Regions from separate parts of the Homo sapiens genome. Here all the other regions are linked to region 6. The links are contacts of gene promoters, found by promoter capture Hi-C in blood cells and fetal thymus (Javierre and others, 2016). All regions are on one chromosome and are shown on one strand. Each heading gives the region's core, a stretch centred on a gene start or on the middle of the fragment in contact. The rest is flanking DNA. Distances are from core to core; before and after follow the strand shown.

What was found. Contacts are between HindIII fragments. The CHiCAGO score rates a contact against its expected background, and 5 or more counts as called.
Region 1: a fragment that was not itself captured here is called in contact with the fragment with the promoter of PMPCB in region 6 in 4 of 17 cell types (total B cells, naive B cells, naive CD8 T cells and 1 more); the score reaches 11.0 in total B cells.
Region 2: a contact is called between a fragment that was not itself captured here and the fragment with the promoter of PMPCB in region 6, in 5 of 17 cell types (naive CD8 T cells, total B cells, naive B cells and 2 more). The highest score is 7.7, in naive CD8 T cells.
Region 3: a fragment that was not itself captured here is called in contact with the fragment with the promoter of PMPCB in region 6 in 6 of 17 cell types (activated CD4 T cells, total B cells, naive B cells and 3 more); the score reaches 11.0 in activated CD4 T cells.
Region 4: a contact is called between a fragment that was not itself captured here and the fragment with the promoter of PMPCB in region 6, in 6 of 17 cell types (total B cells, M1 macrophages, naive CD8 T cells and 3 more). The highest score is 9.2, in total B cells.
Region 5: a contact is called between a fragment that was not itself captured here and the fragment with the promoter of PMPCB in region 6, in 4 of 17 cell types (total B cells, activated CD4 T cells, M1 macrophages and 1 more). The highest score is 13.5, in total B cells.
Region 7: a fragment that was not itself captured here is called in contact with the fragment with the promoter of PMPCB in region 6 in 11 of 17 cell types (total B cells, naive CD4 T cells, total CD4 T cells and 8 more); the score reaches 10.4 in total B cells.

Annotation. Positions count from the first base shown.
Region 1 is chr7:105,059,821-105,063,039 of GRCh38, forward strand. It overlaps KMT2E (lysine methyltransferase 2E (inactive)), which reads left to right. Exons shown (of 27, transcript NM_182931.3): 4 at 2,344-2,458. Among named protein-coding and RNA genes, the nearest start is that of KMT2E, 47 kb to the left of the region's middle. The HindIII fragment of the contact is 6,535 bases long and covers 1-3,219 here.
Region 2 is chr7:104,959,816-104,962,924 of GRCh38, forward strand. It overlaps LOC101927902 (a long non-coding RNA gene), which reads left to right. Exons shown (of 2, transcript NR_187679.1): 2 at 2,169-2,519. Among named protein-coding and RNA genes, the nearest start is that of LINC01004, 30 kb to the right of the region's middle. RefSeq lists an enhancer at 1,539-1,608. The HindIII fragment of the contact is 1,381 bases long and covers 933-2,313 here.
Region 3 is chr7:105,119,812-105,123,074 of GRCh38, forward strand. All of the region lies in intron 15 of SRPK2 (SRSF protein kinase 2), which reads right to left. Among named protein-coding and RNA genes, the nearest start is that of KMT2E, 110 kb to the left of the region's middle. The HindIII fragment of the contact is 3,192 bases long and covers 1-2,931 here.
Region 4 is chr7:105,080,603-105,083,830 of GRCh38, forward strand. KMT2E (lysine methyltransferase 2E (inactive)) reads left to right here. Exons shown (of 27, transcript NM_182931.3): 13 at 1,086-1,195. Among named protein-coding and RNA genes, the nearest start is that of KMT2E, 68 kb to the left of the region's middle. The HindIII fragment of the contact is 3,696 bases long and covers 1-3,228 here.
Region 5 is chr7:104,986,417-104,989,572 of GRCh38, forward strand. LINC01004 (long intergenic non-protein coding RNA 1004) reads right to left here. Exons shown (of 1, transcript NR_039981.2): 1 at 1-3,156. Among named protein-coding and RNA genes, the nearest start is that of LINC01004, 3.2 kb to the right of the region's middle. RefSeq lists enhancers at 590-1,091, 1,092-1,591. The HindIII fragment of the contact is 1,343 bases long and covers 730-2,072 here.
Region 6 is chr7:103,295,670-103,299,111 of GRCh38, forward strand. PMPCB (peptidase, mitochondrial processing subunit beta) reads left to right here and starts at 1,766. Exons shown (of 13, transcript NM_004279.3): 1 at 1,766-1,889; 2 at 2,899-3,039. The coding sequence starts at 1,791. RefSeq lists enhancers at 1,561-1,620, 1,721-2,020. The HindIII fragment of the contact is 11,349 bases long and covers 1-3,442 here.
Region 7 is chr7:105,098,401-105,101,487 of GRCh38, forward strand. It overlaps KMT2E (lysine methyltransferase 2E (inactive)), which reads left to right. Exons shown (of 27, transcript NM_182931.3): 16 at 3,025-3,087. Among named protein-coding and RNA genes, the nearest start is that of KMT2E, 86 kb to the left of the region's middle. The HindIII fragment of the contact is 1,649 bases long and covers 814-2,462 here.

The sequences.
Region 1 (3,219 bases), core at 508-3,007, 1.8 Mb after region 6:
GGAGACATAGTCTTACATTTTCTTATTACTGCTATATTTAGATTTTCTACAATCAGCATGTATTAATTTTGAAATTAAGAAACATTTCTTTTAAAATAATGAATAATTCTTAATGTAACAGCATAGACATTAGCTGAATATTGATTTTCTTGTTGTTGTTTTTTTTTTTTTTTTTTTTTTTTTTTTTTTTTGGAGACAGAGTCTTAACTCTGTCGCCCAGGCTGGAGTGCAGTAGCGCAGTCTCGGCTCACTGCAACCTCTGCCACCTGGGTTCAAGTGATTCTCCTGCCTCAGCCCCCAAGTAGCTGGGATTACAGGTGCCTGCCATCACCCCTGCCTACTTATTGTATTTTTAGTAGAGATGGGTTTTCACCATCTTGGCCAGGCTGGTCTTGAACTCCTGACCTTGTGATCCACCCGCCTCTGCCTCCCAAAGTGCTGGGATTACAGGTGAATATTGGTTTTCAAAGTACAGTCATGCACACATAACAACGTTTCAGTCAACACCAGACCACATAATACAATGGTGGTCCCATAAGATTATATTGGAGGTGCCGTCTACACGTGTACCATTTTTTATCTTTTTTATTGTTTTTTTACTGTACATGTTTTTTTCTCTTTTTAGAGACAGAGTCTCATTCTGTTGCCCAGGCTAGAGTGCAGTGACATGATCATAGCTCACTGTAACCTCAAACTTCTAGGCCCAAACAGCTCTCCCACCTCAACCTCCCAAGTAGCTAGGACTACAGACGTGTGCCAACACGCTTGGCTAGTTTTTTTTTTTTATTTTTAATGTCTGTAGAGAAAGTCTTGCTATCTTACCCAAGCTACTCCTGAACTCCAGGCTTCAAGTGACCCTCCTGTCTCAGACTCCCAAAGTGTTGAGATCATAGGCATGAGCCACCACACCCAGCCCTTATTTTCTATGTTTAGATGTGTTTAGATACAGAATACTTAGCATTGTGTTACCTACAATATTCAGTGCATTGTGTTACCTACGATATTCAGCGCATAACATGCTGTATAGATTTGTAGCCTAGGAGCAATAGTTATGCCATTTAGCCTAGGTGTATAGTAGGCTATACCATCTAGGTTTGTGTAAAGTACACTCTATCATGTTCACACAACGGTGAAATCACCTAATGATGTATTTCTCAGAATGTATCTCCAATGTTAAGCAAAGCATGACTATATTCAGAACATAATGGAGACTCTTCACAATCTCCTTTAGAACCATTAGATAACCTCAGTTTGTATCTCCTCTTTTTGCTGATTCTGGCACACAGCGCTTACAACAGCAGCCACTGAGAGCTAAATTGAGACTTCGTGAAGGGATGACAGTATATTAAGAAGCAGTTGACTGTAAAAAATGTTTTTTATGCTGCTAGTCTCATGACTAATCAGAATATAACCACTAAATATCCTTAAACTAAATAATAGTGCAAATAGTACTAAGTTCTAATGTAAAGTTTTAATAGGAGGTAGGATAAAGATTGTCATGAAAAATTTTTCAAGTGATGTTATAGTTTTGTAAAATAAAGGCACAGAAACAAATCATGTTATTGAGTATTTGCAAGGGAGAGATTAATTTTAGTGTGAACTGACCTCAGATGTAGGTTCACAACCTTGTTGATCAATAGGAATTAACCAAGTAGAGCTCAGGAGGATTGGTAAGAGTAAAGAAGTTGGGAAAGTGATGTATGTAAAATGCTAGGCCAGGGAGCTTGTAAGTCAACAACAGTGGGCAAATTGTATCAGTAGTTGATCAGTCTCCATCATCTAAGACCAGAATTGCTCATCTTACAGATAGCTGTTTATGTTTTTTTTCAGGTATAAATCCTGGTTTATTTTGAAACTTCCTATTACTTAAGTTTACTGACATTTCCAAGGCTTTATTATATTAATATCTGGTCACACTCAACACATGCATATATTTTTGAACACTGAAATGCATACTTCAGTTCCATTTGAGGTCCATATAGATTCTGTGTGTTTTAGTCTTGCTTAAATTATTTCTACTACTTCTTTGCACCCCTTTGCTAGTTTTCTCAGTGCCGTAGGGTTTATTAAATAATAATTGGACTCTAGTAATTTTTTTTAATGAGAGAGAGGGAAACTATATTTGAAATTGGATTGGGACATTTATTTTACTTAAACAGAAGTTTGCTTATGACACATAATCTAGATGGGATATATCTTATCTATAGTGTATCCACCTGCTGTAAGTAGATACTGTATTTGTATAGCCATTATTTTGCTGTAAGTACTTTATCATTTTAATTAAATTGATTAAGAGGAAAAAAAAAGAATGGAATTCTCTTTGATGCAACTTTTTCCCCCCAGACCAGAATCCGTAGAAGCTAGCCCTGTGGTAGTTGAGAAATCCAACAGTTATCCCCACCAGTTATATACCAGCAGCTCACATCATTCACACAGTTACATTGGTTTGCCCTATGCGGTAAGTGTTAAACACTTCTTTGAAAAAACATTTTTAAATTTAGAGATTGAAAGTAGATGCATGTGATACTGTGCTTGAAACGGCATGTTTGAAAAGCATGGTTGTTTCATACTATCAAAATAATTAGGCGTTTAATTTTTCATTAACCATTAAGCGATTAAAGTTCTATAAAAGTGAACTGTTTCTCTTATTATTTTGCAATTTATGCTGTTAATAGTTTGATATTATATTTCTTTACTTCCTAAAAGAATGCAGATAAGGTTGTATTGTACTACCTACTATTAATTTTGAATTATATAGTAATTAATTTTGTTTTAATTTTTTGATTTTTAGTTTTTGAATTATATAGTAATTTATATAGTAAATTTTATAGTTACCATTTATTGAGCCCTTGTTATGTGTCAGACATATATTATTTAATCATTAAAAACAACTTCATGAGATGTAGTTTTCATCTTTTATTTCATAGGTGAGAAAATAAAAGCCTATCTAACTTATTAAATATTGCATATCTAGTAAGAGGCAGCATTTAGATTCAAACGTAATTACATAACAACACATTTATGATACTATGGAGGTAGAATTATGAGATACTTACTACTTGGACCAGAATAAAAATTACTAAATTTAAAAAACTATATTATATGTTTTATAGTGATAAATATGTCTTGTTTTATTATTCTTTAGGCTCCATATTTCTGAGATGTGTGTTTTTCTTTTTCTTTTTTTTTTTTTTAACACTTCTATTCTCACATCTTAAT
Region 2 (3,109 bases), core at 373-2,872, 1.7 Mb after region 6:
AGTTGAACAATGAGAACACATGGACACAGGGAGGAGAACATCATACACCAGGGCCTGTTGGGGGGTAGGGGGCAGGGGGAGGGATAGCATTAGGAGAAATACCTAATGCATGCGGGGCTTAAAACCTAGATGACGGGTTGATGGGTGCAGCAAACCACCATGGCACATGTATACCTATGTAACAAACCTGCACGTTCTGCACATGTATCCCAGAACTTAAAGTATAATAATAATAATAATAATAATCCAGAGCAATTCCCTCCTGCCCTGTCTGAGATTTGATGTAAAAAATGCGTCTTCCAGGCTGGGCACGGTGGCTCACGCCTGTAATTCCAGCACTTTGGGAGGCCGAGGCAGGCGGATCATGAGGTCAGGAGATTGAGACCATCCTGGCTAAGATGGTGAAACCCCGTCTCTACTAAAAATACAAAAAAATTAGCTGAGTGTGGTGGCAGGTGCCGGTAGTCCCAGCTACTCGGGAGGCCGAGGCAGGAGAATGGCGTGAACCCGGGAGGCAGAGCTTGCAGTGAGCCAAGATGGTGCCACTGTACTCCAGCCTGGGCGACAGAGCGAGACTCCATCTCAAAAAAACCAAAAATAAATAAATAAAATAATGAAAATTTAAAAATGCTTCTTCCGGCCAGGCGCGGTGGCTCACGCCTGTAATCCCAACACTTTCGGAGGCCGAGGCAGGCGGATCACCTGAGGTCAGGAGTTCAAGACCAACCTGGCCAACATGCCAAAACCCCATCTCTACTAAAAATACAAAAATTAGCAGGGCATGGTGGCGGGCGCCGGCAGTCCCAGCTACTTGGGAGGCTGAGGCAGGAGAATGGTGTGAACCTGGGAAGCAGAGCTTGCAGTGAGCCTAGATCATGCCACTGCACTCCAGCCTGGGTGACAGAACAAGACTCTGTCTCAAAAAAAAAGAAAGCTTCTTCTAGGGAGGTTTAGTCTCAGGCTGGCTCTCCAGGCCCAGAAGGGGTCATCTCAAATTTCTGCTCTTTGTGGACAGAGCTAATCAAATACTTTTTGGGTAGGGACAGCAGACATTGCCATATTCAGCTTCTTGAAGCTCCTTCAGACAGTGGAAGCTGGACCTTGAAGCTCCCCTAACAAATAATGTAGCAATTGTTGAGAGTCCTCATGGTCATGGGATAATGCTTGGCAGTCAACAGGGGCTCACATTCTGAAATAAGTAACGCCAACATGGTCATGCTTACTGAAAACTGTAAACTACTTTGAAGCATACAGAAATGTGTATTCTGAAATAAGAGACAGGCTGATAAAAGAGGAAAAGAAAAAGGGGTTTGCTTGGTTCTTAAGAGACAGGGATGGGAGTTCCCTGTAAGCAGAGTTGCACAAGAGATGGTATGGAGGCAGAAAAGAGGAAGCAGGGAGCAAGGCAAGGCCAAAGTCAACTGAAACAGGAAAACTAGCCAGAAAGCACATTGCTTGCTCTTTGAAGACATTTCCTTCAAGTTCTGCCTTGCCCCAAAACCTAACCCAGGCCAGGGTGGTGAGCGCTCTCACCTCTGAGCCTCTGACACATGGACTGCATGTACTGCTATTGCTCCTTGGCATATGGCCCAATTTTCTGAAATCATAAGCATTTCTGTGCAACCATCCTGTCACTCCAGTTAAATTTCAAGACAGATTTTTTTTTTGAATAGTATATCCTTAGTGGAAGAAATAGGAACCATTTTATTTTATTCATTTATTTTTTTTGAGACGGAGTCTTGCTCTGTCACCCAGGCTGTAGTGGAATGGCGCGATCTTGGCTCACTGTAACTTCTGCCTCCTGGGTTCAAGCCATTCTTCTGCCTCAGCCTCCTGAGTAGCTGGGATTACAGGCGCCCGCTACCACACCCAGCTAATTTTTTTTTGTATATTTAGTAGAGACGGGGTTTTGCCATATTGGCCAGTCTAGTCTCGAACTCCTAACTTCAGGTGATCCACCCACCTCAGCCTACCAAATTGCAGGGATTACAGGCGTCAGCCACCGCGCCCGGCTCCAGACTGGGTTTTTTAGCAAAGAAGGAATTAATACAGGGAAGTTGGTGCTCATGAAATAGTTGAAAGTACTGAAGGAATAAGCATGTAGGCTGGGGCCTTCTGGAATGTCTACCTGAATGCCACAGAACTGACCCTCATTTCCCTCCCTCCAGAAGCTACAACCTCAGCCCAGATTAGCAGGCTGAGGGGTCAGGAGGCTGTCACTGGAGCTGTTGAGCTCATGAACACGCCGAAGTTGCTGCGCTCCAGAAATGTGGAAGTTGGAATGAAGAGCCACCACTGCTGCCACCAACATGAAGCTTGACCAAGCAAGCCAAGAAAAGATGGCCAAGAGCCTCTGCCTTCCTTCTGCCTTCTGCAACGCAATGGTGAGCTGCACATCCACAACTTGAAGGGAGTCTGGGAAATGCAGAGTTAAACTTTCTAGCCTCTCTAAGCTTTCAACTGTTACAGAAAGGCAACCCAGGAGGAGACTGGAATAAATGCTGAGTGCCAATTTCCAACACAAGTAGTCATTATAATTGGGGTGAGTGTTATCTTGCCCTGGCTCAGGGGTAATCTTGTGTTGGTTCTGTTCATCCCCACCAAAATCAAGTGCAGGGCTTATTCTCCCTTCCCTAACCATCAGGTCACTAGGGGTCCAGGGCCTCACCTTCCTTCTCAAGAGTTAATGAGCATTCCAGGATGTTGTAAGGAAGGACTGTCCATATGGAATAGGGAGGACACAAACCCAACATTTTGCTCTGACTGTTAGCCAATAAACAATGTCCTGGTTGTTGCTTGCTGTCAGGCATAAGTCCTCACTAGACACCTACCAGAAGGCAACTAACCCAATGGTCTGGCATAGGCAAAGGGGCTTACTAAAATGTAGGCTGGCACTCACTTCTAGCCCTCTCCTCCTGTCCCCACCACCTCTCTGTCTTATCACTTCCCTTCTATCTCCCCTCCTCCCTCAGCCTAGAGAATATTTTTCTAACTTAGGTAAGGAGCTTTGCTGTTATTCCTGATGTTTTCTCCTAAATCTTTTACCAGTTTGTTCTCTCCAGTTCACTAAGGATCTAGACCAGTGGTTTTCAATCTGCAGCCTACATCT
Region 3 (3,263 bases), core at 86-2,585, 1.8 Mb after region 6:
ATGCTGGCACAAAATTATATGTACTCGCAAAATTACGAAGAGCCAGTAATAGTAAAATGGTGGTTAAAAGAAAACCAAGGTAGATTCACTTAATAGTATTTAATATTACTTAACAACATGGGAGAAGATCATGGTACAACATTAGGCAGTAAAAGAACAGTCAAACTATGTCCTACAGATAATCACAAGATTATTAAAATGCTCATTAAGATGGAAATCAACTGAATCAAAACATCAGCTTTTGTTAGTAGGTTATTTCAATTTCCACATTTTCTGTAATATGACTATATTGATTTAGACTGTTGATCTCACCACAGCAACAGTTAAAGCAAACTAAGAAAGCTCACATGTGACTAAACCAAGTTCTCTGGGAAAGGGAGCGAACTTTTATGACATGAATCTATTCTATCTCAGAAAAAATACTCTCCAGGTTTGCAAATATAGGTAACTACAGAGAAGCACTGTGTGCTGAGAATAGTAAAGGAACCTATTTCTGAGGCGCCAGGTGTTAAACTAAGATCCATCAACAAGGCATCTTTTAAGTACAATCTTCCATGAAAAGAGAAGTTTTACCACTATAAATGCTTAACAGCTGCATAGTAACAGTGAGCAAAACAATATAATAGTGAAAGGCCATGAGAAACTATTCATCCATAACTAGGCATACTATAAACTGGTAAAAATATTCGCAAGGAGCAGTAAAATATCTAACTACTTTTAACAAGGTAAAGACTGTGCAAAGAAGCAGTCTATAAACAACAGTATATGCAGGAGAGTCCTAAACACCTATGGTCCTGAGCACAGAGCAGCACTGCAATATAACAAAACACTGAACCGCCTCTAAAAAAAAAAAAAATGTGTGGACTTTTTTTGTGGAAAAAGTTTATAATATAATGCAAAGGAAAATCAACTCACCCAGATGCTATAATGATTATGTGTGCAAACCCTTAAGCTCAGTATAAGAAGTAACCTTGCCCTGGAAATAGTTGATAAGGTTACTTAAACACAAAGCCCAAGCCCCCAACTCTGTATCTATTGCTAGGAGACACAACAAGAGTGGGCTCACTGAATGAGTGAGGGTCTCGAGTCCATGAGCCAGCTCCAGCCCTGCAGATGATGCCCAAGAAATGTAGCCACCTCCATCACTTAGAATGATAATTAAGAATAAGAGGGGAAAGCATATTTTAAAAACACATTTTCACCATTTGCTCTTACTATAAAAGTAGCACCCTAACAAGTTAAAGAAATGTCATCGGCCGGGCACGGTGGCTCATGACTGTAATTCCAGCACTCTGGGAGGCCAAGGCAGGAAGATCACCTGAGGTCAGGAGTTCGAGACCAACCTGGCCAACATGGTGAAACCCGATCTCTAATAAATACAAAATTGGCCAGGCGTGGTGGTGCACACCTGTAATCCCAGCTACTTGGGAGGCTGAGGCACAAAAATCGTTTGAACCCAGGAGGCAGAGGTTGCAATGAGCCAAGATAGCATCACTACACTCCAGCCTAGGCAACAGAGTGAGACTCTGTCTCAAAAAAAGGAAAAAAGAAAATATATGAAGACGTAAAAAAAAAAAGAGAGAAAAGAAAATATATGAAGATGTGTTTCACTGAAACAAGTTTTGCAAATAACTAGACAACTGTGACAATTTTAGTTTCTTAAAGTTCCATTTCTAGCCTGTCCTCCTTAAAGAATGTGGAATATCACTTCACCCTTCCTGTGACTATCAGCTGTCAATCTCAGTATCAACTCACACACACACAAGCAAACATGAGCCTGGCAGCCAATTGTGTGGTCCCCAAGAGCCCCTTAGGCTTCTGAATTTGCTCTGAGAAACAGCTTGAAAGAGCCAAGGAAAACCAACAGGAAGCAGGCTCTGAGGAAGGGTTCCTCCTGCAGAGTAAAGGCTTTGTGACAGCAACTGTACTGGCCAGTCCTGGACTTGCAGAGTCCTTCTAAGGAAACAGGGAAGTTCTATTATACTTCTCTTGAATCTTAAAGTGGTTTGTGAAGGAAAATACATTATTTTATCCATGAAATTGTCATATTCCAGAATTAAATAAAGAAGCCCATGAGGTTCCACACTACATGTGGGAGGACTCTAAAGGCAAATCCTGGACTATATTTACATGAACACTGGTAATTACAAAGCAAACCATGATATAAAACTGATGAGCATCAATTGTGTACACGTAGAAAGTAAACCTACCAAGAAATACCAATACAAAGCAAGAGACAATGAAGAGATCTGAATGAATTCTTACACAAGTAGACAACCAAATGTAGGTAAATATTGGAGTTTAAAATGTGTATAAACCCTACCTCACATCCCATACAAAAATCAACTCAAAATAGGTCATATGCCTCAGAGCTAAAACTAAACAATTCCTAGAAAAGTAAATCTTCATGACCTTGAAGTAGGCAATGATTTATTAGATGTGACATCAAAAGCACAAATTGTAAAATGTATATAAATTGGACTTCATCAAAATTTAAAAATTTATACTTAAACTTTCACATGTGTATTCAAGAGAAACGGAAACATCTGCCCACACAAACTTGTACATTAATGATCATAGTAGCATCATTCATAATAGCCAAAAAGTGGGGGAAAACCAAACGCCCATCATCTGATGGAGGGATAAACAAGAGGAGTGGCAGTGACAACGCCCAGCCTGTGTAGCTGTCAAATGCCCACGAAAGAGCTTTCTTTGCTCTTTACAGCATCAAAAGAATCTGTTGCTTTTTAGGTATTCAGGAGATAATTTTAAAACACTGTGACAAGTTCAGCTCAGACACTAAATATTAAAAATACAGAATACAGTATCTCTTTTTAAAACTCAGCTCCTGGGTTTTAGCCCTCAGTTCTCACATTTCTCTTGATGTTGTCCCTGACTCAGGGAAACGTGGATTTTATGCTGCTGCACAGAAGCTTCTTGCTTTTGAAATTTTCAATTGTATTTAAGGTCTGTAGTCTGACACACACACATACACACACGCGCGCGCACACATGCACACAATCACTCTCTTTTATCCCAACACACTCGATGCTGTCATCTAGAGACCAGTTTTTTTTTTTTAAGTAAACTGTCTCATTTGATAATCCCATTATCCACGCAGCAATTTTTACTAAAATATGCCTGCTGAATGGTCAGAAAAATTCCTGGTGACCAGCCCAGTGAGGTCTGCTCCTGGCTGCACCGTTTTTCCTACCATGATCTGAGGGCTGGAAAGCTTCTGGGGACCACCCACTTCTTGAAGA
Region 4 (3,228 bases), core at 334-2,833, 1.8 Mb after region 6:
AGTTTTATCTGTAAAAAGGTGATATGAAGACTGAAGGAGTTAATACATATAAAGTATATAGAATAGTGTCTTGTCATAGAAAAGTAGCGTTTGCTCAACCATTATTGCACTCATCAAACCTAAGAAGGCCAGGCACAGTGGCTCACACCTGTAATCCCAGCACTTTGGGAGGCCAAAGTGGGTGGATCACCTGAGGTCAGGAGTTCAAGACCAGCCTGACCAACATGGTGAAACCCCATCCCTACTAAAAATTAGCCAGGTGTGGTGGCACGCACCTGTAGTCCCAGCTACTTGGGAGGCTGAGACAGGAGAATCACTTGAATCTGAGAGGTTGGGGTTGCAGTGAGCCAAGATTGCATCATTGCACTCCAGCCTGGATGGCAGAGTGAGACTCTGTCTCAAAACAACAACAGCAACAACAAAAAACCCTAAGATGCCACCAGTTATAAGACTCCTGATTTCAGAGATGCTAAAAGGTGAAAAAAAAGAATTGATGAGGCTGGGTGCGGTGGCTCACGCCTGTAATCCCAGCACTTGGGGAGGCCGAGGCCGGCACATCATGAGGTCAGGAGATTGAGACCATCCTGGCTAACACTGTGAAAACTCGTCTCTACTAAAAATACAAAAAAAAATAAGCCGGGCATGGTGGCAGGTGCCTGTAGTTCCAGCTACTCGGGAGGCTGAGGCAGGAGAATGGCGTGAACCTGGGAGGCGGAGCTTGCAGTGAGCCGAGATCGCACCACTGCACTCCAGCCTGGGCGAAAGTGTGAGACTCGTCTCAAAAAAATAAAAATAAGAAGAATTGATGAAATATAGTATTTTTATTATTATTATTATTATTATTATTATTTTGATGCCACATTGTGGGCTCTAGGGGTTGGGGTGGCAGTGGATAGCAGTATATGATTGAAAAACCTTCCCAGTTGATAACCACCAATAGATAGTTATAAGCCTTGTCATTAATGACATATTTTCCAGGTTGTGTTTGTGAAATAATTTGAAAAGAATAATTTTCAAAATTGTAAGCTGATGCTTCTGAAGGCAGAAAGTAATTTATGGTAATGTACAATTATTTTAACTTTTAGGTGAGGCATGAAATTCAAGATGGAACCATACATCTTTATATTTATTCTATACACAGTATTCCAAAGGGAACTGAAATTACTATTGCCTTTGATTTTGACTATGGAAATTGGTGAGTTCAAGTCTATAAATGTAATCTGTTGTTTGAAAATAGTTCCATAATGTCCCTGTAATAATTTAGGTATTGTCATTACTTTTATAGCTTTTTATTTTTATCTATCATGAATCAGTTAAAAGTACTTGAAAACCAGAAGTTTAGTATCAGCCTCTATTACAGCATTGCTACTTTTCATTTCTACATTTTCCTTAATTATTATTGTAATGTAAATGTTCACAGTAATTATAACAAGTAACCCTAATTCAGCCATACAACACTGACCTTGTTTATGTGAGAATTTTTTTCTTCTTCTAGGGGATATAATTTTAGTCATACAGTTTATTTGGTTAATCAGTATGAATGAATAATTTGTCTTTTGCCCCTCAAAACAAAAGAAAATTTTCTTTGCAGTATAAATTAAAAGGGTTTGTTGGAGATCCTACAAAGAAACTCTAAGAACTATTTTTCTGAAATACTAGTAAAAAACTAATGATAAATCTCAGTACAGTTGGCCCTTGCACAATGCGGGGTTGGAGCACCAACTGCCTGCACAGTCCACAATCTGCGTATACATTTTGACTCCCCAGAAACTTTACTAATAGCCTACGGTTGACTGGAAGTGTTACCAATGACAATTAACACATATTCTGTATGTCTTATACTGTATTCTTACAATAAAGTAAGCTGGAGAAAAGAAAATGTTTTTAAGAAAATCATAAGGAAGATACAATATATTTACTGTTCATTAAGTGGAAGTGGATTATCGTAAAGGTCTTCATCCTCATCTTCATGTTGAGTAGGCTGAGGAGGAAGGGTGGGGGTTGCTCTTGCTGTCTCAGGGGTGACAGAGGGAGAAGGGGTAGTAGAAGGGGAGGCAGGAGAGGGAAGCACATATGGTGTAACTTTATGAAAACATATTAGTAATTTCTGCCTGGCTTTTTTGCTTTCTCATTTCTCTAAAAATGTTTCTATATGGTGCCAGTCTTCCGTCATTTGCTTTAGCTTCAGTGCCCATATCATAGAAGAGTCCATATCATAAAAAAGTAAAAAATCAGTCTTGAAAACAATGGAGCCCTTCTGCCAGATTGTCTAATGTAAATTTGTTTTTTGGCACTGCTTTTTCTACATCTTCTTTCTCATCATCTGGCACTGGTTTGGAAGCAATCATCTCCATTAGGCATCTTCTGTTAATTTCTCTGGTGTGGTGTCTATTAGCTCTTGAATTTCTCTGAGATCCATATCTGTATTCTTCCTTCATCCCCACCTTTTTTTGTTATATCCATGATCTCTTTCATGATTTTTCTGATTGGCTCTGATGTAAATCCTGTGAAGTCATGCACAACATCTGGACACAGTTCACTCCAGCAGGAATTTATTGTTTTGGGCATGATGGCTTTCACAGCTTTTTCTATAATGATGGCATCTTCGATGGTATAATCCTTCCAGACTTTCATGATCTTCTCTTTCAGGGTTCTGTTCCATAGTGTTGACATTCTTTTCCATAGAGTACTGTGTGTAATGAGCCTTAAAGGCCATTATCACTCCTTGATTTAGAGGCTGAATTAGAGACACTTTGATGCCCTCAGTGTTGAACTCATAGGGTTCTGGGTGGCCAGGGGCATTGCCCAGTATCAAAAGACATTTAAAAGGCAATCCCTTCCTAGCTACCTGTTGTCTGACTTGAGGGACAAAGCATCAATGGTACCAATCCAGAAAAAGGGTTCTCCTCCAGGTTTTCTTGTTATACAACCAAAAGACTGGCAGCTTCCGTTTGTTTTCCCTTCAAGGCTTGGGTTTAGCAGCTTTATAGATAAGGGCAGTCCTGATCATAAACCCAAATGCATTTGCACAAAACAGTAGAGTTAATCTGTCCCTTCCTGCCTTAAATCCTGGTGCTTCCTTCTCTTCCTTACTAATAAATGTCTTTTTATGACTTTCCCCCCCCAGAATAGGACATTTGTGTCTGCATTAAAAGACTTTTCAGGCAGATACTCTTTCTCCTCAGTGATTTTCTTAATGGTGTCTGAGAACTCATCTGCTGCCTCTTA
Region 5 (3,156 bases), core at 151-2,650, 1.7 Mb after region 6:
TTTATTACCTTGGTTAATGTTGACTAAGGACCTCCATGTTGAGGGAAAGTGCTGGGGTTAAGCAAATTGAACCTTTGTAGGCCCAGACAGGACCTTAATCAAGATATAAGAGGCCAGGTGTGGTGGCTCACACCCATAATCCCAGTTTTGGGTGGCCGAGGTGGAAGAATCGCTGCAGCCCAGGGATGCTGAGGCTGCAATGAGCCTTGATCATGCCACTGCACTCCAGCCTGAGCAACAAAGCCAGACCCTGTCTTAAAAGAAAAAACAAAGACCCTGAACTGCAGTCACACTTTCCTAAATACCTAGTAAAATTAGCTGGTTAAATCTAGTAAGACGTTCCCCAAAGATTTACGGCAGATGCTGTTTTATATATATTGCTGTGTCCCTCTGTGACAGGAAGTTACAGGGTTCTTTTTACCAGTAGTCCTGTACCCGGGGCCTTGCAAATCAGTGTCATATGGTAGAGAACAGAATCTGATCACATTTCCTACTTCCTAAGCAAGTACCAGAATATACTTACTAAGCTTGTATACTGCCCTCAACTGCTATATATTTTTTTCTTTTTTTTTTTTTTTTGGTGATAGTAGGGTCAAATGCTAAATTGTTCTGCATAAGAAATAAGAATTACAAAGACTGGGCAGCTGAGAAGAAACAATACTGCATACTTAAATTGTTAAGGTAGGTCTTGTGGTTTTTTTTTTTTTTTTTTAAATCACACACCCAAAAAGCTTAGGTGATAACTGCAAAGGATTTTTTTTGGGGGGCGGTGGAGGAGAAAAAAGGGGAGGAGTATTTTTGCAATTTAAACATCCTCTGTAATTTTTCCCGTAAAATCATTCGTAAAATAAACATTACTCATTAGTGCCTTATGAAGTTCTCCTTTTGGGGAATGTGATTAAACATATGGCCTTTATTTTATTTTTTTGAGATGGAGTCTCGCTCTTGCCCAGGCTGGAGTGCAGTGGCGCGATCTTGGCTCACTGCAAGGTCTGCCTCCCGGGTTCAGATCCTTCTCCTGCCTCAGCCTCCCAAAGGAGCTGGAACTACAGGCGCCTGCAACCACGCCCGGCTAATTTTTTTTTTTTGTATTTTTAGTAGAGACAGGGTTTCACCGTGTTAGCCAGGACGGTCTCGATCTCCTGACCTCGCGATCCGCCCGCTTTGGACTCCTGAAGTGTTGGGATTACAGGCATGAGCCACCACGCCTGGCCACGGCCTTTATTTTAAAATTTGGCATAGGAGTCAAAAGCTGCCCAAGGAGGGCAGCTACCTATGGGGTGTGCATACATTCATGACCAATATTTAAGTCCAATATAGCTTTGATAATTGTTCTATAAAATGTTTACACCTCACTGAAGAATCTGTCGTTTTAAAAGAAAATCTTTACATTTATTGTATCCAATTAACTTTGTTAGTAATCTGCCAAGTAAAACAAGTATTCATAGTAATTAGTGACTCTATTGCATTAGAACTGTAACTTAGTGCCATTTTTGAAGACTGTTTTCCCAACAAGGAGGCATTATCATTTATCCAATTACTTTATTCTCTTTGAATAGCAAGCATGATGTAGGCCTCAGCTCACAATTTACTTACCTGATTAGCTTCCATTTCTCTTTAAGGATATTGACTATGTGACACTTCTAAGAAGGCTGACTAGTACGTAAGATTATGTAAAAATCCTACCAGAGTATGTACTAAAATAAAGTTAACATGTCTATTTTCTAGTTGCTTGTGATTTATCTTAATTTTCTTCCTATGTCACTAAGATATGGGTAAAGAGCCCTAAACTCCAAACATTTTTACATGTTAATATAAATTTAATGGTGGCATATTATTCCATCTACTGGCTGGGACATGGTATATATAATTATTTGCCTATTAATCGGTTCTGAATATTTGTATTCTGACTCTTGGCTAAGCTGGCTTCTGTCTTTTCTAACTACTGACTGAACTGAACCCTTTGATGACCAGCAAGGTCTCTGACTTCCAAGTGCAATTTGAGCACTATTTATTTTTAGAAGTTTTAAGTCCAAACTATTTCCTTTAATTGCTCTTGTCCAGAATACACAAGCTTTTTCTATATAGGGCCACATAAGAAATATTTTAGGCTTTGCAAGCCAATCTCCCTCACATATTCCTTTCCTTTCCCCCATTAACAACTCTTTAAAACAAACAAACAAACAAACAACAAAACCTGAAACTGGAAGTTTTAAGTTTACTGCCACATGGGTACAATCATATACTTAGGTCGATAACTTTATAGTTTTAAATGTAACATCTCACATTTCAAGCATCTCCTAAAACTTGCCATTGTAATTCTAGTTGCTAACATAATGGACATCATTATTTTTATGAAAATATTCCTATAGAATTAAAAATAACACTTGAAAAAAATTAAGATTGTTTTTCAAATAGCTTACTTGGTTAAAGTCTACTTATGGAGCAAGCTACAAGTCCATATAATCTTTGCTGTTTGCCACCTACCTAACCAATTCCTCATTTTACTCATGTTTTGTTAGACAGAATCAACTTAGGATATTGTCTTCCGTCCTAGGGACCCAGAGGAAAAGAGATGACCAAAGATGCAATAAACTGCCCCAATATACTGTGTCTATTTAAACAGAAATCAATCAGCTGTTAGGCAAGCCAATGGGTGCATAAGTAGGGAGAGGGGTCAGCCAACACTGGACACCTTAGAGCAGTGGTTCCCAACCTTTTTGGCACCAGGGACCCGTTTTGTGGAGGACAATTTTTCAATGGACAGGGCAAGGGGATGGTTTTGGCATGAAACTCTTCCACCTCAGATTATCAGGCATTAGTTAGATTCTCATAAGGAGAGCACAACCTAGATCCCTCACACGTGCACTTCACAATTGGGTTCTCACACCTATGAGAATCTAATGCGGCCACTGATCTGACAGGAGGCTGAGCTCAGCTATGATGTTCACTGGCCCATCACTCACCTCCTGCAGGTGCGGCCGATCAGGGGCCGGGATTGGGGACCTCTATCTTAGAGGGTTTTAGGCGAATCCTAAATAGTGTGTCTCCACTAATATTTGTTAAGTTTATGCTTAACATAGCAAGACTGATATTTGTGACAGCCCATAGACACATCTGCTCTCTTAAGATGTACAATGTTTCACAGGAATTTTA
Region 6 (3,442 bases), core at 516-3,015:
TATGTATGCATGTTTGTATTTATTTTTGGTTAACACACATTTGTTTTAGAAACATGAGAGAATAACCTTGGTCGTCCTTTATTACATTACATCATGAGTCTTGTGGACTGAACCTGCGAAGCATAGCAGCCGGGTAGGTGGAGGGAGATGAGTCTGGAAAGATAAATGGGAGTCAGATCATGAAGGGCCCCACCTGCCATGCTAAGGACCCTTTACTTTATTGTGACCAAGGGCTCCCTGATGGATTCTTCATAATGGGACTGCCGTAACAGTTTCATTTGTAAAAGATCCTATAGGTAGTAATGTGAAAAAACTGACAATGGGCCTGGAGTAGATTGAAGAGGCAGGAAAGGGGTGTATCAATTGAATGTGGAAGATGGAAAAAGAGAGGAGCTTCTGGGTGGTTTGGAGTTTTGGGCAAATGTAGGTATGATTGGCTGTTTGGCATTGCAAATATGGGAAGAGATTCAGGGGACACAGTGAATTCCCTTTTGGACAAGTTGATATTGAGTTTCCAATGGGGTATTCAAGTGTAGTTTCCTAGTAGTTGATGGTTAAGTGGGCTGGAGCTCAAGAGAAAGGCCTGGGTTGGGCAGACAGGTCTTGAAGTGGAGGGAAAAACCCAGAGGGAGAATGTTCAGTAGAAGAGGCTTAGAGTCCTGGCAAACACCAACTTTTAGGGCAAAATGTAGTGTTTCACAGCACAGTCTTTGGCGTTAACCTATTACTAGCAGGGTAACCTGGGGCAAGTTATTTGACTTCAGTGTCTTAATTGCAAAATAAGCACTATACCATCTACCTGAGTTAGAAAAGCATTTGCAATTTTTAGTTCCTTGAGAGATCTGTGGGCTGGGCGCAGTGGCTCACGCCTGTAATCCTAGCACTTTGGGAGGTGGAGGTGGGTGGATTACCTGAGGTTAGGAGTTCAAAACCAGCCTGACCAATATGGTGAAACCCCATCTCTACTAAAAATACAAAGTAGCCAGGCGTGGTGGCACATGCCTGTAATCCCAGCTACCTGGGAGGCTGAGGCAGGAGAATTGCTTGAACCCAGGAGGCAGAGGTTGCAGTGAGCTGAGATTGCACCACTGCACTCCAGCCTGGGCAACAAGAGTGAAACTCCATCTCAAAAACAAAAACAAAAACAAAAAACAGATCTGTGAATAAAGAGGAGTCCAAGAAGGTGCAGAGGGAACTATGAGGAGGTGGAGCTCTAGAATATATTGAGAAAAGAGAATTTCAAAGAAGCCAACAATGTCAAATCCTCCAACAGGACTGTAACATAAGTCTGTAAAGTGTCCAACTTTTAGCAATTAGTGACCTTACCAAGGGCAATTTCTATGGAATGAGATGAGCCATATTGTAGAGGTTCGAAGAGTGGATAGTGGTCAACACGGATACATCGTTTCCTCCCCTCACGGCATCTGTCTCTCCCACTAGACTTTTCCTTTAAAGGCAGTGACTTATGAATATTATTCCACTGTTTTCAATCAATTCCATCCACCAGTGAGATATATTGCATCAGGTTACCTTTCATTCCACCGCATTTGTGCCTTGCACTTAGTAGGCGATCGATAAAATAACTGATGATAAAGGGGCTTCTGCAGACTCCCCAATTCATTTGGTAAAGACCGCTCAGCATCATGGTCGGGCCCTGATTGCTTTCACAACCGCTTCGAGGAGTGTCATTCCCATCACGGCCACAAGGTGGAGCCCACCTCCCTGCTCTGGGACCTCAGGTCGCGACCCCGGAAGCACATCCTTCATCCTCTACCTTCCTTCTAGCAGAAATGGCGGCTGCGGCGGCTCGAGTGGTGTTGTCATCCGCGGCGCGGCGGCGGCTCTGGGGTTTCAGCGAGAGTCTTCTAATCCGAGGCGCTGCGGGACGGGTGAGCTTCCCTCCAGGCCGGTCCTGTCCTCGAGATCTCGCCAGACCCGGCGCAGCGCACCTGAGAGTCGGCGCCACAGATCCGAACAGTGGGTCGGGCAGGGCCTCCTCGACCCGGACCCGCCGGGCGCCAGGCGGCCTGGGGCTGCTGAACTGGCCGGGGGTGACTGGCTTGTGGCCACCCGCCAGGAGACCTGCTAGTGACGTGTGGGATGACCCTGGTTTTCGGCTCCTCCCGCCAGCTACTGAGGAGTGCATGTTTGACCACTAAAAACGTAGTGCTTGCAAATTGGGGAAAACTAAAAAGTGAAATGGGTACCGCTCCAGAGTTCTATTTTTGCCTAAGACTGAACTTCGTCCTCAGCTGGGCTTCCCGCGAACCTGGACATCAATGAAGTAAAATTTTTTATGTATTTGCATTTTTCTCATGAGAGAGCCTCTGACTTTAAGCAAAGGGATGTGAGACTTTTGTATAAGGGCAAAGAAAAACTGCTGAAAGGCGAATAGTTTCTGGCCGAAAAGCCAGTCATTTGCATTTTGAACATCGACCCATCTTCCTATCCTCTCTCTCTTTTTTTTTTTAACCATTTCCAAACCCTGTTGCTTTTCTTGAACAATGAAAACCCGAGTGTCAGTTTTGTCTTGTGTGTAGGTAGTTTTACATAGTTTCCCTCTCTTTTTTTTTTTCCTGCTTGTTTTCTCCATAATGAATATAAAACATTTCTAGGAGAGGTAGTGAAATAAAGTCAATTTCTCTCTGGGTAATGATAATAATTGCTCATCTTCCCTGAGGGAAGGGCATGTTTATAAACACGTTGCTGGCTTTAGGACAGTGGCTGGTGACAGATGTTTCTAGGCCAGGCAGAGATCTCAGTGGAACCAAAATTCAAGAAGAAAGATTCTTTTATAGAGACAGCCTATTTAAAATAGATTTGGTTTTAAAAGCAACATTTAATATCAGATTAGTAATGTGTTTTGCTTTGTCTCTTCCACTTCCTACCCCCAACCAGTCATTATATTTTGGAGAGAACAGATTAAGAAGTACACAGGCTGCTACCCAAGTTGTTCTGAATGTTCCTGAAACAAGAGTAACATGTTTAGAAAGTGGACTCAGAGTAGCTTCGGAAGACTCTGGGCTCTCAACATGCACAGTAAGTGACTCAGGCAACCTTCTCTAAGTGACCCTTCATTTAGCGTAGCAAATTGTTGATTTTAATCTTTAGCTTTTTCGTTGGCTGGTGGTTCAAAAAGGGTGACAGTTATTTTGCCTTGACAGATTTCCATGAGTTGTGAACCTTTTCTTCCAGTGGTACTTAGTTACAGGGTGCATATGTATCCTGTTGCATTGTCTGCATCTTGTTCTTGTAGCTTATTATTGATTATTTATTTTCAGTAGTATTGATAATAATGAAAGAAATATGTTTGCAGGGCTACTCTGCCAAGTGTTTTTACTGATGTCTTATTTGATAAAAAGCAATTGTTTGTAGTGGGCATCCTCACACCTGTTTTATAGTTAAGGAAGTGAGAGAAGTTAAATGGTTTTGTTCAGGTAAC
Region 7 (3,087 bases), core at 388-2,887, 1.8 Mb after region 6:
CACTAATTTTTTTGTTTGTTTCCTGAGACAGAGTCTTGCTTTGTCACCTGGCTGGAGTGCAGTGGCGCAATCTCAGCTTACTGCAACCTCCACCTCCCTGGTTTAAGTGATTCTCCTGCCTCAACCTCCTGAGTAGCTGGGACTACAGGCGCGTGCCACACCTGGCTAATTTTTGTTTTTTTAGTAAAGACAGGGTTTCACCATGTTGGCCAGGATGGTCTTGATCTCTTGACCTCATGATCCACCCTCCTCGGCCTCCCAAAGTGCTGGGATTACAGGCATAATAAACCACTGCGCCCAGCCTAAATTTTTTTGTGGAGATGGGAGTCTTGCTTTGTGATGGGGATATTATTAAGCAGACTGCTTATAGGAAATTACAATGCTTGGTATTTACTCTTGGAAAACCATAAACTAAGACATATGTCATAAAAACAATGTATAGATTTCATGGGAAATCTATCGAGTTTAGATTATATAGCACAGGTGTTAGGGGCTATGGAAAGTCTGCAGGGGTTAATTAGGAATCCTAATTTCTCTATCTCCAGAGTCAGCTCTAACTACCTCAAAGAATAAAACTTATTTTTCAGTTAGAGCTATAAAATGGGAGGCAAATTTTGTCTTTAAATAGGTACCATATACATGGCTGTGTCAAAGAATGTACTGTATGTAATGGTGACTAGAAAAGCTGAATGATGTATGACCTTTAAGAAATTAAAAATAAATGTAGAAAATCAGGCACGTTTATGTTCCAAAATATTTGTGTATTTTAAGATAAAGCTAGGTCTAAAGCTGTTAGGAAATGTTTAGTGCTTAAGCTTTATTCTTACCCAGCTGTAGTAATGTAGGAAGAGTTTTGCTTTATGTAGCGGCAGTAATTGGAAAGAAGAGTAATACAGAAACCAGGAAACCTGCATAACCTGCATAGTAATTATGGCTCTGCTTTTGAATGAGTCACTTAATACACATGGGCTTTGGTTTCTTCAGCAGTATTGGACCACATTATTTTTTAAGATCCTGATCAACTCTAGAAGATTATGAACCATCTCTAAATACAGGATTTTGCTCTGACTATAAATTAGCTGTAGTGTTTACAGGGGAGTTTGATTTTTTAATTGAATGTTTATATCATATAGTTTTATCTCTGACCAAAACAAGAAAATATTTCTTGTATCCCAAACAAGAAAATATTGGACTATGTCAGACTCTGTTGGCATAAATTCATATTTACCTTACAACACCCAGGATAATCATACTACAAAAAATATCTTCCTTGGGTGCCCACCTGTGGGTAGTTTTTTATTTTACACATACAATGATTTTTGCCAAGACAAGTTTGTTTCTTCTGGAAAAATGTACTTTCCCCAAATTTTTTATTTTAAATTTTTTGAAAAGAAATAACCATAGTAATTAATCCCTCCTCTCCAACCAGGTTCATCAGGTAAAGCGCAGTTTGGGAAAATGATCTTTTTAGTTACTCCAAATTTCTCCTCTTCTACATTCAGGGTTTTAGAGAAGCCCTGATAAAAACAGTTTTACAGAGAACCACAAGACAAAAAGGGGTAAAGGTAATTTAAAAGCCCAAAAATAAGGAATTTTGTAAGGAAAGAACTCAGCTGTAAAACTTTCAGTGCCAGTGAACAAGTAGAACCATCTTTTGCATGTGCTATTGTAGTGTTTGCCCGTCCCAGACTAGGAGAAGTGAGATACAGATACGTAATCCATGAACAAAGAACCTTACCTCTTTGGACCTCAGTTTCCTCAGAGTCATGTTTGCAATATGGAAATTTGCTGTAACAAATTAGAAACTTAGAAGTATTATTAGAGTACTTTTGTTGACATAGTATTTTGTTCCCTTGCTGAGTGTAACAACAACAACAAAAATACAGGAACAGGTAAACAGTAGTTTCCAAAGTGTAGGTATCTTGAGGCTTGAATCTCTGCTGGTAATTACTGGAACTAAAGCTCCAATATTGAGAAGACTGTGGCATCCAGACCTTGAGTTTCTGATCTTTCTTCCTCACATCGATGTGTAATAAAGGAGGAAAGACAAATGGATCTGAGCCTCAGGACCTGTGGTTCTTTTCATTTTAAGAACTGGACAGTTGATGGATGTGGTTCCTGGTTCTGGTTTAGAGCTGAAGCATCTGTCAAGGCTCTGGGTCTTACTCTTAATGTTCTCTTTGGATAGAGAACTGATGCTCAAAGGAACACTTGGCTGTTTCTCAGTCCCTGTCTTGAATTGTCAGTGAAGACAGGAAGAGCAGAAGGTAGAGGAATACTTTATAAGAATTACAATGGAGGGCAAGAGGACTAAAGTAGAAATAATAATTAACATACAGAACGCCCACCATTTTCCAACTACTGTTTGAAAACCTCGTATTTTCTGTTGGAACCAAATAACAACTCAGAGAAGTTCATCATAAATGAACTTCTTGCCAGACTTGAAAAGAGAGAAGAGAACAAGCTTTGGAAAGGATTTTATTACCCACATCTTACTGTCTCAGAAAGGTTAACTTGCCTGGAGTCACAGAGATACTTACCAAATGAGAATCATAATTTTTAAATGCAAGACTTTACCTCACAACATCCTGCTGCAGTATGCCAATAATATACTCACTCAAGTGCATATGAATTTTACCTTTTCAACATATCATTACCTTAGGGATTTTGGATCTTTTTTTAAAAGGCTGATTTCTGTATTATTAAGAGAAAAGATTTTCGGTTTGGTAAAACAAGGTAATTTTTGAGGCTTTTTTGTTTTGTTTTACCCTTATCATTAACACTCAGTCATCCAAGTGTTTCCTTCATGAAATATTTGCAATAACAGGGCTTACCAAGATGATGGGAATTCTGAAAGGTCTTCAATGAACAGAAATGTTTTTTCTCCCCATATCCACCAATAATAGAAGTAGTTTGCTGATAGTATCATAGCAATTATTTTTTACATTTATCACAAACATTTGGACTTAATTTTACTTTTGAGCATTGATATTTATGATGTCACTTAAAATTTAAATTTCATAGACAAGAGAAGAAAGAAAAATGGAAGCAATTTTGCAAGCTTTTGCCAGACTTGAAAAGAGAGAG